Regions from separate parts of the Homo sapiens genome. Here region 1 is linked to region 2. The links are contacts of gene promoters, found by promoter capture Hi-C in human tissues and cell types (Jung and others, 2019). All regions are on one chromosome and are shown on one strand. Each heading gives the region's core, a stretch centred on a gene start or on the middle of the fragment in contact. The rest is flanking DNA. Distances are from core to core; before and after follow the strand shown.

Evidence for each region. Contacts are between HindIII fragments. The study calls those that stand out against the background at their distance.
Region 1: the fragment with the promoter of PPP2R5D here is called in contact with a fragment that was not itself captured in region 2 in 3 of the 25 tissues and cell types used here (H1 embryonic stem cells, aorta and heart right ventricle).

Annotation. Positions count from the first base shown.
Region 1 is chr6:42,983,037-42,989,483 of GRCh38, forward strand. It overlaps PPP2R5D (protein phosphatase 2 regulatory subunit B'delta), which reads left to right and starts at 1,534. Exons shown (of 16, transcript NM_006245.4): 1 at 1,534-1,668. The coding sequence starts at 1,642. LOC124900215 (a long non-coding RNA gene) reads right to left here and starts at 1,278. Exons shown (of 2, transcript XR_007059580.1): 1 at 796-1,278. RefSeq lists an enhancer at 1,313-1,432 and silencers at 1,583-1,652, 1,743-1,892, 5,535-5,829. The HindIII fragment of the contact is 19,136 bases long and covers 1-6,447 here.
Region 2 is chr6:42,892,797-42,899,610 of GRCh38, forward strand. No RefSeq gene overlaps it. Among named protein-coding and RNA genes, the nearest start is that of PEX39, 5.4 kb to the left of the region's middle. The HindIII fragment of the contact is 6,847 bases long and covers 1-6,304 here.

The DNA.
Region 1 (6,447 bases), core at 284-2,783, 89 kb after region 2:
GCAACCTCCACCTACCGGGGTCAAGTAATTCTCCTGCCTCAGCCTCCTACCGGGTTCAAGTGATTCTCCTGCTTCAGTCTCCCGAGTAGCTGGGACTACAGGCGCGCGCCACCACGCCCCGCTAATTTTTGTATTTTTCATAGAGGCATGGTTTCACCATGTTGGCCGGGATGGCCTCGATCTCTTGACTCGTGATCCGCCCACCTCGGCCTCCCAAAGTGCTGGGATTACAGGCGTGAGCCACCGCACCCTGTCTAATTTTTGTATTTTTAGTAGAAATGGGGTTTCACCACTATGGTCAGGCTGGTCTCAAACTCCTGACCTCGTGATCTGCCCACTTTGGTCTCCCAAAGTGTTGGGACTACAGGCGTGAGCCACCGAGCCTGGCCACAGGTTTATTCTTTTTGTCGTCATTGTTGCTGTTTTGAGACAGAGTCTTGCTCTGTCGCCCAGGCTGGAGTGCAGTGGTGTGATCTCGGCTCACTGCAACCTCCGTCTCCCGGGTTCAAGTGATTCTCCTGCCTCAGCCTCCCGAGTAGCTGGGATTACAGGCGTGCACCACCACACCCAGCTAATTTTTGTATTTTTAATAGAGACGGGGTTTCGCCATGTTGGCCAGGCTGGTCTCGAACCTCTGACCTCAGGTGATCCTCCTGCCTCAGCCTCCCAAAGTGTTGGGATTACAGGCGTGAGACACCGTGCCTGCCTGGTTTACATTCTCTCTTAATCCTTTGTTTATACACATCTGTGATTCACCAGACTGCGAACTCTTTGTGGGCATAAACTGAGTCTTACCCATTAGAACACGGACTTGAGCAGGGTGGCAAGTAAGGGATGGATTTCCTGAGACAGTCAACAATGAAGTTGCTTTTCCACTGCGTTCCCAACTGCTCAAATCTAGCTGGTTCCCCAATCCCAGTACACTTGCAGTAGCAACGGGGACCCTCTTCCTAAAGTTGCACCAAGCCAGGGATTCTCCACTCATTTCGCCCAGGTCCTAGCCCTGCCAGGCTTCCCCTTTGCTCCTCTGCAACCCCTGTCTAGGGAGGCGGGTGTCTTGGAAGGTCCTTGGGAGCTCCCTCCATCAATTTTGCATCTGCAATTAGGGCTACTTTACCCCAGTGAAGAAAGGTGCCCTCCGTATTAGGGCTTCCTTCCTCCAATTCCGACTGGACAGGGTAGCAGAGCGGGCAAAGTGTGAGAGCCTTTAGAAGGAAAGAGCAGGGCTCCAAGCGCCGCGAAGAATGGCCGAGGCCGACGCACAGCAGACGCTGGAGTGCAGCCCTCCTAGCCAAGCTTGGGTTTCCCCTTATCCCCGCCTCCTTCTCTAAGCTCGACCCACTTTAGGGCGGGACCACCCACTTCAGCCAATTCTGGAAGCCGAACCCTGGCGGTTTGTACTATTTCTTTCCAATAAGAAAAAAAGGAAGCAGCTTGGCTCCAATGACCAATCCGAGGAGGCGGCGCCTGGTTGTCAGGCAGTTTTGTAGGAGTTCGGGCCAATTGGAGGCGCAGGCACCGCTCGACCCGGGCGCAGCGCGCAGGCGGTGGCGAAGAGACGCCGAGCGGGCCGAGTGCGGCCGAGCAAAGCCGGAGCCGGAGCGGGGCCGCAGGAGACGGGCCGGGTCCGGACGGGCCGAGATGCCCTATAAACTGAAAAAGGAGAAGGTGAGCGTGGCCCTTTTTCCCCCACCGCCGCCTTGGAGCCTGCGCGGAGCTCTGGGAGGGGCCGGAGCCAGGCCCGGGACAGCCCCAGACTGACCCTCCCGTCCAGCCCCCGCAGGACTCCTGGGGCCAGCCCTCCGCCCCCGCGGCTGGCAGCACCCCCAGCTTGTGCCGCAGCTAGGACAGCTCCCCCACCTTGCCCCGGAGAGACTCCCCCCACATACACCTCCCTCCCTTCTTCCCTTCTCTTACCCCCGGCCCAGGGTAACCTCCTTCTTCCAGATCTGCCCCATTCCCAGGTCACTGTCCTGCTTTTTCTGTCCCCCCCATCACCCCTGGCCCCGATCCCCCTTCGGTTTGGGCAGCCCCTCATCTGAAACTGCACCTTCCTCCAGAATTGCCCCCTCGCCCCGCCCTGAGCAGCCCCTTGTCTCCTCTTCCTACCCGCCTGGGACAGCCGCCCCGCAGTCCCCTACGGCCCCTTCTCTTTCCATGCCAAGCCCCTGACCTAGAACAGCGCTGCTTTCTCTCTCCTCCACCCAAATCTGGCCTAGGCCCCTCCCTCTAGTTCTTCCTTCACACACAAACTTGTAAGCAGGACTGAGCCCTTCTGTTGATGGAACCTCACAACGTTGGTGCTGGAAGGGACCTCTGAGCGCATGCAGTGCAATCCCTAATGGTACAGATGAGGAGACTGAGGCCCCGACAGGGCAAGGGACTTGTCCAAGGTCACACAGCCTGCTGGAGGCCCAGCTGCAATATCAGGTCTCCTGACTTAAAGGCCTCTTTTGTATCAAAGCCCTCCTAACTGTCACCCAAGTGCATCCTAGACCAGTCACCTTTCCTAATCTGAGTAGGCTCCTCACCCTTATTCTTAATCCTAGGATAACCTTTGCATTTTTCCTTTTTTTTTTTCTTTTCGCACCAGTGCTGGATTTCTGCCTTTCCTAAGCTACACCATCTTCAAATTGGGAATTTGTCCTCACTGTCAGATTATTGTTCCTTCTTAGCCTGCAGGCCAGCCACCCCTGAACACCCATGTCTTTATCATGATGTCCTGACACAGGCCATTTCTTTTTTTTTTTTTTTTTTTGAGATGGAATTTTGCTCTTGTTGCCCAGGCTGGAGTGCAATGGCGCGATCTCGGCTCACCACAACCTCTGCCTTCTAGCTTCAAGCGATTCTCCTGCCTCAGCCTCCCAAGTAGCTGGAATTACAGGCATGCGCCACCACATCCGGCTAATTTTGTATTTTTAGTAGAGACGGGGTTTCTCCATGTTGATCAGGCTGGTCTTGAACTCCTGACCTCAGGTGATCTGACCCCCTCGGCCTCCCAAAGTGCTGGGATTACAGGTGTGAGCCACCGTGCCTGGCCCACAGGCCAGTTCTTAATGTTGCCTTCTTTCACCTTCCTCATCTACCTCGGTGCTGCCTTCCCCTGCTCCTCATCCGTGCCTTTTTCTACCCTCTGTTTCCTGCTGTTGCTGAGGTCTGACTCAGAGGTGTGGTTCCTTTGAGGTACAGACTCACACATAGGATGCTAGGATACCAGTTCCAGCCTCCCCCAGCTTCTCCTCTCCTGGGGCTGGCCCTTTTTGGTGGGGGTTGGCTCTGGCCTGGTGTTCTGGCCACCTGCTCGATGACCCCAGAGGTATATTGCTTTCATTTGCCCTCTGATTGGCTGGGTTACTGGGCTGCCATCTCTGACCTTTTCAATCAAACTTTTTCTCCTGGGGCTGTTCTGTATTTGCCAGGCAGCTCTGATTCTGAGTTGTCCCCTTAACCTTTCAGGGCCTGAGGTTCTAAGTACAGGGTTGGTGATGGTGTACTAGATAGTGAGCCTCCTGGGAGTAGTGAGCTGGACAGGGTTTTGTGCCCCACCCAGGCCCTGTCCTTGGGGAGTGGGCATGCGGAGGTGGTTTGGGTAGCTCAGTCGTAGACAATGCACACAGAAATCAGCCACAACAGGGGCTAAGGGAAATGGAATTCGGGGAAAGCTGGTGAGGTCCCCACCCATTTGTAATTTTTAGTCTGTTGGACTAGATACTGTCCCATCCACAGAAAGCAATAGCCTACTAGATTGTGAAGAAGACAAATTGCCAGTGAGATTTGCTAGGACCATGGGTGTAAACGTTTGGTTGGGAAAGGGTGTTGGAAGTAACGGGGTGCATGGAGCCAGGCATAACTCTCACCTCCCTATAAGGTTTTTCTGCTCTTGATTTTCAGTTGCATTTGGCCTTCTTCAATGGTTGGCAGGCTCTAAGGGGCAGGGGGGTTGCCAGTGTGACTGAGGTTTGTCTGGATGGCTGTGGGTGGAGGATCTTTATTGCTCATCTATGACCTGTCCCCTCTCTCCTGGCCATCTTTCACAGCTTCCTCTCTAAAGCCTTTCTGAGCCCTCAGTCAGGAGTGAACTCTCCTTTCTTTTCTGGATTTGCAGAACACTTAGTAGGCCACTTATGGTCCTTTTGTGTTTGGCCTTGGATGGGAATTAATTGTGGACAAGACTTTTCTTCCCCTTTGAGATAATAACTAAGTTTCATTTTGGTTTGACAACTCCTTTTCACACGGTAAGTACGTGCTTAGTGGATAGGTGCTAAGATAATCTCTTGGAGGGATTCGCATCTCTCCTCTTCCTTCATGTTCTCCTCTGGGACTTACCTCTTTTATTTTCCTGAGTAGGGTGCCCCTGCCCCCTCCGATTTTTTTCTTGTTCATAATAATAGTAATAACATTGACCAGCACTACGGTTTTCATGTGCCTTAACACTGTGCTGAGGGAAGAGGGTATTATGATTGTCATCATCTAATAGATGAGGAAACTGAGGCTCAGAGAGGCTAGTTAACTTGCCTGTGATTACACAGCCAGTAAGAGTTGGGCCCAAAACACAGGGCTGAGTCCAAACATGTTCTTTTAACCTCTGTGCTACACAGCATTTGACTACTGAGCTGGGCTGAAATGTGTGTGCTTCACCTGTTCTGCAGGAGCCAGGGAGCAAGGGTGGTAGGCCTGGTTCCTCCATGCCCACTCACACCCACACACTAAGGCAGCTGGATCTCTCTTAGGCTCATTCTTTGAAAGATACGTCTGAGGCATCATGCTGAGTGCTGTAGGGTGGGTGGAGGGGTACAAAAAAGAATAAGCAGCTTATGGTCTAATAGATTGGAGATGTATGAAGATGGGTCAGCTTTGTTCAAGGGGTTCATGTCTGGGGTGTGTGCAGACACCTCAATGTTGTGTCCTGCCTGCACCCTGCCCCCGGCCTATTTCTCTCCACCCCATGCTCTCAGCCACTGATAAGGGTCAGTGTGGCCAGCTGGGTTAGTATACAGCAGGAGCGTGCTCAGGCCAAAGAAGGAACTCCTTCCCCCTACTGCATGGAGCTGCTCTACACCACACCTTTCTTCCTCCCCACCTCCAAGAAGCCTTCCCCCTACTCCAGCCCACACAGAGCTCTCTTCTCCCTGAAATCCTTTTGCCCCCATAGTCACAATAACTCGATTTAACACTTCTCACTGAAGGGGCTTGGCTGCTATTGAATTGCACAATCTCAGAGCTGGAAGTGATTTCCAAGATCCTCCAGTCCTCATTAAAGGCTTGAATTTCTTTTGCAACATGCCTTACAGGAGGTCACCAAGCCCCTGCTTGAATGTTCTCAGGGGTTGGGGAGCTTTCGGCTTCACTAGGTGGCCAGTTTTAGTGCAATTGCTCCATGATAAAATTCTTCCTTGTTTGGAGCTTCAGGTGGCTTGCAACTTCAGCCCATTGCTCTCGTGCCTCTGGTCCATATGGACAAGTTGCATCCAAGGCATCCAAGTTGCATCTTCATTTGTTTAAGATCCATCTTGCTTCTCCATCCCTCATGACTCCTCCCTTCCATTGTTAACTATCCCAGTTCCTGCAGCTGTTGGTCTTGGGACATGCCTTTGAATCCACTCCCAGTATGGGTTGCATTTCCCTCTAAGAAACACTAGGATTTGTCATGGCCCCTCCCAAGCCTGATGCTCATGACTGAACCAGATCCTCCAGGATAGCCCTGTCAGTGCCAAGCAGTCTGCACAGGTCTTTTAACAAGATGGAAGGTCACATGAGCTGCACATGGATGATTTGTGTTGAGCTTGCAGTCAGACCTAAATCCCCAAGTCTTTTTCACATTTTCCCTATCCTGTCCCTGTGCAGTTGCTTTTTTTGGCTCGAAGCATAGGAAGAGATGCTGGGCAGGCCAGGGCTCTGAGCCAGCTGCCAGGTTCCCAAAGGAGACTTCAGACTAGTGCTCACTCTTTGTAACAGTTCAGGGTTTTACCCCCATCCCTGTCTTAGTGCTTGTCAACTGAGGTGCTCTTGGCATTTTGAGTGGGACAGTTCTGTACCTGTTAGCATTCCTGGGCCTTACTGATTAAATGCTGAGTAGCACCCTCTTGTCTGTGCGCTATTTGTGACATCCAAAAATTGCCTCCCAGTCTTTCCAGGTGGCTGTGAGGGGAGAGTGGTGACTCCCTGCACTCCAGCATGAAAGCCTCCGGCACACCTTTGACCACTTTAGCCAGAAACCAGTGAGCAGCTGTTCCCTGATGCTTTTTCTTTAAGCCTCCTCACCCTGGTTCTGACCTGAGCAAAGGCCCTCCCAGGCCCAACCTCTGCACCAGCCTGATGAGGTGAAAGATGGAGCATTCTCACGCTGAATTAGTGTGTGTTTGGGGTGACTTCCTAACCAGATTCTAAACTCTTTGGAGGGGCTGAATCTCCTTCTGCGTAGATCCCTCCACCCACCCCAGCTCCGCA
Region 2 (6,814 bases), core at 1,631-4,130:
AAAAATACAAAAAAAAAAAATTGCTGAACATGGTGGTGGACACCTGTAGTCCCAGCTATTCTGGAGGCAGTGGTCGAAGAATCGCTTGAACCCGGGTAGGTGGAGGTTGCACTGAGCTGTGATTGCCAGCAACTTCCGACTGGGAGACAGAGTGAAACTCTGTCTCCAAAAATAAAATAAAATATAAATAAATAAATAAATTCAATGAGTGATCCTGGATTAGATGCAAGATTGTGTAGGGGAGATCAGCTCTAAAGGACATTTTACCCTTGGGGAAATTTGAATATGATCCATATATTAGATGACAACGATATATCAATGTTAAATTTATCAAGTGTGATAATTGTGGTTATGTGTGGGAATTACCTTGTTCATAGCAAATACATTCTGAAGTATGTAGAGGTGAAGTGTCATGATGACAGAAAGAAAGCAAATGTGGCAAAATTGCTAAGAATTAGTGAATCCACGTGAGGGTTTGAAACTTGTCAAAATAAAAAGTTGGGGTAGGCCCGGTGCAGTGGCTCACGCCTATAATCCCAGCACTTTGGGAGTGGTCAAGGCAGGAGGATCACTTGAACCCAGGAGTTCAAGACTAACCTGGGCAACATAGTGAGACCCCCTCCAAAAACAAAAATTGGCTGGATGTGGTGGCACACACCAGTAGTTCCAGCTACTTGGAAGGCTGAGGCTGGAGTATCACTTGAGCTCAGGAGGTTGAGGCTGCAGTGAGCCAAGATTGTTCCACTGCACTCTAGCCTGAGCAACAGAGACTCTGTTAAAAAAAAAAAAATTGGGGTAGGGGGCACTTGGTAAGAGCTTGAGAAGCCAGTCTGGAGGAAACTGACCATATTGAATGTTGTATAATAAAGAATTTTGAAGGGGTGGCCTGCCCCTCCACACCTGCGGGTATTTCTCGTCAGGTGGGACGAGGGACTAAAAAAAGAAATAAGACACAGAGACAAAGTATAGAGAAAGAACACTGGGCCCAGGAGACCAGCGCTCAGCGTACGGAGGACCTGCACTGGCCCCAGTCTCTGAGTTCCCTCAGCATTTACTGATTATTATTTTCACTGTCTCAGCAAGGGGAATGCAGCAGGAGAACAGGGTGATAGCGGGGAGAAGGTCAGCAAGAAAACATGTGAGCAAAGGAATCTGTGTCACAAATAAGTTCAAGGGAAGGTACTATGCCTGGATGTGCACATAGGCCAGATATATGCTTCTCTCCACCCAAACATCTCAGTGTAGTAAAGAATAACACAGCAGTATTGCCACCAGCATATCTCGCCTCCAGCCACAGGGCGGTTTTCTCCTATCTCAGAATAGAACGAATGTACAATCGGGTATTATACTGAGACATTCCGTTCTCAGGGGCATGCAGGAGACAGAGGCCTTCCTCTTATCTCAACCGCAAGAGGCCTTCCTCTTTTACTAATCCTCCTCAGCACAGACCCTTCACGGGTGTCGGGCTGGGGGATGGTCAGGTCTTTCCCGTCCCACGAGGCCATACCTCAGGCTGTCTCAGTGGGGAGAAACCTTGGACAATACCTGGCTTTCCTGGGCAGAGGTCCCTGTGGCTTTCTGCAGTGCATTGTGCCCCTGGTTAATCGAGAATGGAGAATGGCGATGACTTTTACCAAGCATACTGCCTGTAAACATTTTGTTAACAAGGCACATCCTGCACAGCCCTAGATCCCTTAAACCTTGATTCCATACAACACATATTTCCGTGAGCACAAGGTTGGGGCTAAAGTTACATATTAACAGCATCTCAAGGCAAAACAATTGTTCAGGGTACAGATCAAAATGGAGTTTCTTATGTCTTCCTTTTCTATGTAGACACAGTAACAGTCGGATCTCTCTTTTCCCTACATATCCCCCTTTTTGACAAAACTGCCATCGTCGTTATGGCCCGTTCTTGCTGGTCGCTGTCTCTTCGGAGCTGGTGGATACACCTGTGGACTAACAACAGACAGAACAGGCATACAAGGATTAATATGAAATTTACAATAGTGGAACTTCTGATGGTTTTTAACCAAGTGACAGTGTTAAGATTTGTGAGGCCATCAGTAGCTTTCACGATTGCCTCAGTTCCCAAATTTAAATGGGCTTTCGATGCCTCAAAATTTTGTTATTTTAATTTTGAAATATCTAAAGTAAGATTATCTTCTCTTCCCTGTAGATGGCATCTAACCATGTCCCAGTGATGCTCAGACTCATTATAGGCTTGGGGTGTAATACAAAAATCTGACATATTCCAGTCACACTGTAACTGAAAAAGATATTCCAAGCTCATGAGCCTATTTCCCAGCCAAATGACAGTTTGTCTAAGATCATTAATTTCGTTTGCCAATTTTTGATTTATTTGGGTCTGAGAATTCCACAATTTTGAGGAATTCTTTCGCCAATCATTTACATATTCTGCAGTTTGAACAGAGGAGTGTAAAGCAATTCCAGCAGCTGCAGCAGTAGCTGTGACTGCAATAAGGCCCATAATCACTGCAATCAAAGTAAAAATCTTTTGGATCTAGTTAGAATTCCTTTTAATACTTCCGTTAAAATATGGAAGATGGCGAAGCCTCCCACTGTCGGTCCATGGACACAGGGATCCGCACACCTTCTCTTGCCCTCACTAGCAGAATATGGCGCTGCCAATTAAAAGTCAAATCAATGCAAGTAAACAATCTACAGTTTTCACAGGTTATAGTTTGGGAATCTGGTTTAATAACTATGTTTTCTATAACTAGCATATAAGGGGGTTTTACACAACTTTGTAAAGGAATTGTCAGATTGGAATTTAGGTTGATAGTATAATATGGCTTACGATTTCTTGTTTCTGTAGCTTGATTTCCAGACCAAATTCTAATGTAGTGCGAGGCCACAGTAAGCTTCCATAATTTTGGATGTTTAGGACCAGTAACAGGACTAACTAACTTTGGTCGAGGTGATGAAATTCCCTTTTCACCCCATTTCCAGGGATAGGGTGATTCTAGCCTTCTATAAACCTGGTCCAGCCTTTCAATTAAATCACTATCATAGGCCGGATTAATGGGCCAGATGGATGGGGCCTGTAAACATGAGTGAGTCTGGCCCATACAATTATATATAATATAATTGTATATAATATAATATAATATATAACTATTATATAATATTATAGTAGTTCCAAATTCATTGTTTTGTAATACCACCGCAGTATTAGCCACACATTCTTCCCAAACTAAGGCTTCTGGGCTTTTTGATTCTTTGGGAATTTCCTTGGGGCAAGGCTTCCCCTTAGGCCCAGATTTTAATGATCTTTGATAAGAAGCGTCCTCTAAATTATTTATCTGTGGCCCGAGTGACATTCCACTTACCATGTGATAAGTAAATTTACTGGTGGCACTGACGGTAGGTACTTCTACCAACCAGTTTTGGGTTGTAGGCATTAAACATCCTGGTGCCTTCCCTAGGCAAATAGGAGGATAATGATACCCAGTGGAAACATTTATCATCATTCCTTCTTCTTTAGGTTGGGCAGGGCAACAATCGTCTGTGGGGCCTGGTACCCATGCCCTATTATTAACATATACTTCAACAGGATTATCCATCCATGTGACTGCCCAAATTAAGGGTGGGAAAGGCACATAGGCACAGTAAGTATAATTAGTTGCAGCTGCTCCTGCAGACATGGGGAGACTTACTACCGTTGATATAATAATCAAAGCTGTAAGCAGTATATTCTCTGGAGTTCACATTACCCTTGTGTTCTTTAGGCTTTTTTTAGCTAACTGTGTCAGCTTCTTTAATTGGGCCCAAGTCGGTGGCTCCGCTTCCTTGGTGGATGGCAACTTCATCTGTTCTTCTGATATCACCATTTTATTTACCTGGCGAGTCGATGATGCTCAATTGAGGGTTTTTTGTCTCCGCAGAGGCGCTTTTCTTCGCATCTCCAAGGGGTTCATTGTAGAACTTTAAATTTCTAGTGGGTATCCAACCAGGAAGCTGATTTTCTCCTTGTGAAACACAAGCAAAGCCTCTCTCCCATGTTATCACCTTCCCTATTTCCCATGTCTTATTTTTCTTGTCTTTCCACCAAATCAGTTTTCCTTCATGTGGGCTATTCTTTTTACCAGTAAAATGTTGTTCTGCAGAAGTAGTGGTTTGATTTCTATAAATGTTTAAAAAATTTAAAGTATAGAGTGCTAGATTAAGTTGCATCTGGGGAGTGTTATACTCCTTACTGTCTTTTTTCCTTTTTTTGTTTAACCAATTGAGCTTTGAGTGTTCTATCAGTTTTTTCAATTATGGCCTGTCCTTGGGAATTATAAGGGATTCCTGTTGTATGTGTAATTTTCCACTGATTTAAGAATTTTTGAAATGTTTTACTACAGTATCCTGGCCCATTATCCGTTTTAATTTTTTCTGGAACTCCCATGACAGCAAAACAAGATAATAAATGTCTTTTAACATGGGAAGTATTTTCTCCTGTCTGGCAGTTTGCCCTTACAAAATGTGAATAAGCATCAACTGTCACATGGAGAAATGACAATTTTCCAACTGAAGGTACATGTGTGACATCCATTTGCCATAACGCATTAGGACACAGACCTCTGGGATTAACTCCTGCCTCCTGAGTGGGCAGGTGTGGAATCTGACACTGGGTGTAATGTTGTACAATATTTTTTGCCTGTTTCCATGTGATGTCAAATTTATTTTTTAGTCCTGTTGCATTTACATGAGTCAAGGCATGAAGTTCTTGTGCTTCCAGGAATGCAGATGATACTAGCAAGTCAACTTGTTCATTTGCTTTAGTTAAAGGCTCTGGTAAATTAGTATGTGCTCGAATATGAGTAACATAAAATGGGAAATTTCTTTTTCTTACAGTTTGTTGTAACATATTAAACAGCTGGTTTAACTGATCATCTATACTATATTTGATTAGGGCTGTCTCAACATCCTTTGTAGCCTGTACTACATATGCAGAATCTGATACAATGTTAATAGGCTGATTAAAATCTTGTAACACTGTAATGACAGCAACCAACTCTGCTCTTTGAGCCCAGTGATATTGAGTTTCAATGAGTCGTTCTTTTGGCCTGGTGTAAGCCGCTTTTCCATTGCTGGAACCATCAGTAAACACTGTCAGAGCATTTTCTAAAGGTTTATGTCTAGTAATTTTAGGTAAAATCCAAGTAGTCAATTTTAAAAACTGGAAGATTTTTGTTTTTGGGTAATGATTGTCAATAATTCCCACAAAATCAGCAAGACCAATCTGCCATGCACCAGAATTGATAAAGGCTTGTCTAACCTGTTCCTTGTTTAAAGGAACAATGATTTTATCTGAGTCACTTTCACACAATTTTATTATTCGTAATCTTGCCTGACCAATTAATGTAGCCATTTGATCCAAGTACAATGTAAAAGTCTTAATTGTACTATGAGGAAGGAAGAACCACTCCACAAGATCTGTATTTTGAGCAATAATGCCTGTTGGAGAATGTGCAGTAGCAAAAATCAAAAGTTGGAGTGGGGCTAAGTGATCTATTCTATTTACTTGTGCTGACCGAATTTTTTCTTCAACTAATTCAATTTCTTTAGTTGCTTCTGGAGTTAATGTTCTTTTACTATTCAATTCTGGATCCCCTCTTAAGATAGAGAACAAATTTGACATGGCATAAGTAGAGATGCCTAGAGTTGGCTGAATCCAATTAATATCTCCTAGCAATTTTTGAAAGTCATTTAATGTTTTTAATGTGTCTTTTCTTATTTCTATTTTTTATGGTTTAATTTTCGTTTCCTCCACCTGCATTTCCAAGTAATGGAAAGGAGTAGAGGTTTGAATCTTATCAGATGCTGTCGTCAGTCCTGCGTTTGCAACCTCTGTCTGCAGAAATGTGTAACAGTCAATTAATTTGTCTCTCCTTTCTGTAGCACACAAAATATCATCAACATAATGAATGATATAAGAGTCTGAAAACTGTCTCTAATTGGTTGAAGAGCTTGAGCTACAAAAGTCTGGCAAATAGTTGGACCATTAAGCATTCCCTGAGGCAACACTTTCCACTGAAACCTGGTGGCTGGTTCTTTATTATTTATGGCTGGTATAGTAAAAGCAAATTTTTCAAAATCCTGTTTTGCCAGAGGAACGGTAAAAAAGCAATCCTTCAGATCAATTATAACTAAAGGCCGATCTTTGGGGATCATGACCGGAGAGAGCAACCCAGGTTGGAGAGCCCCCATGGGTTGAATTACAGCATTAACGGCTCTTAAGTCGGTCAGCACGCGCCATCTGCCGGATTTTTTCTGAATTACAAACACAGGAGAATTCCAAGGCGAAAATGAAGGCTCAATATGTCCCTTTTCTAATTGTTCCTTTGCTAATAAGTGTAAAGCCTCCAGCTTTTGTTTTGGTAGCAGCCACTGATTCACCCATACAGGTTTTTTTGTTTTCCAAGTTAATGGAATGGGTTTTGGAGGCTCTACAGTGGCCGCTCTTAAAAAGGATACCCTATTCCTTTTCTTTTTTGAGTTTTTTCAGCCTCAATTGGGACTTTAATGCTGTCTTCATTCTTTCCTAGTCCCTTTTCAGGGAGATATCCCATTTTAGTTATGATTTTTTGACTCGTGGGGCTGTATTGGGGGCTGGGATAGTAATCGCTGCATGCCATTGTTGTAACAAGTCTCGGCCCCATAAATTAATTGGAATAGAAGTGATCATAGGCTGAACTGTACTTTCTTGATCATCAGGTCCTAGACAATGTAAACTCATGGCACTTTGATACACTTCTGAGGCAGTGCCTACGCCGACAAGTCCTGTAACAGGCTTTTGTTTAGG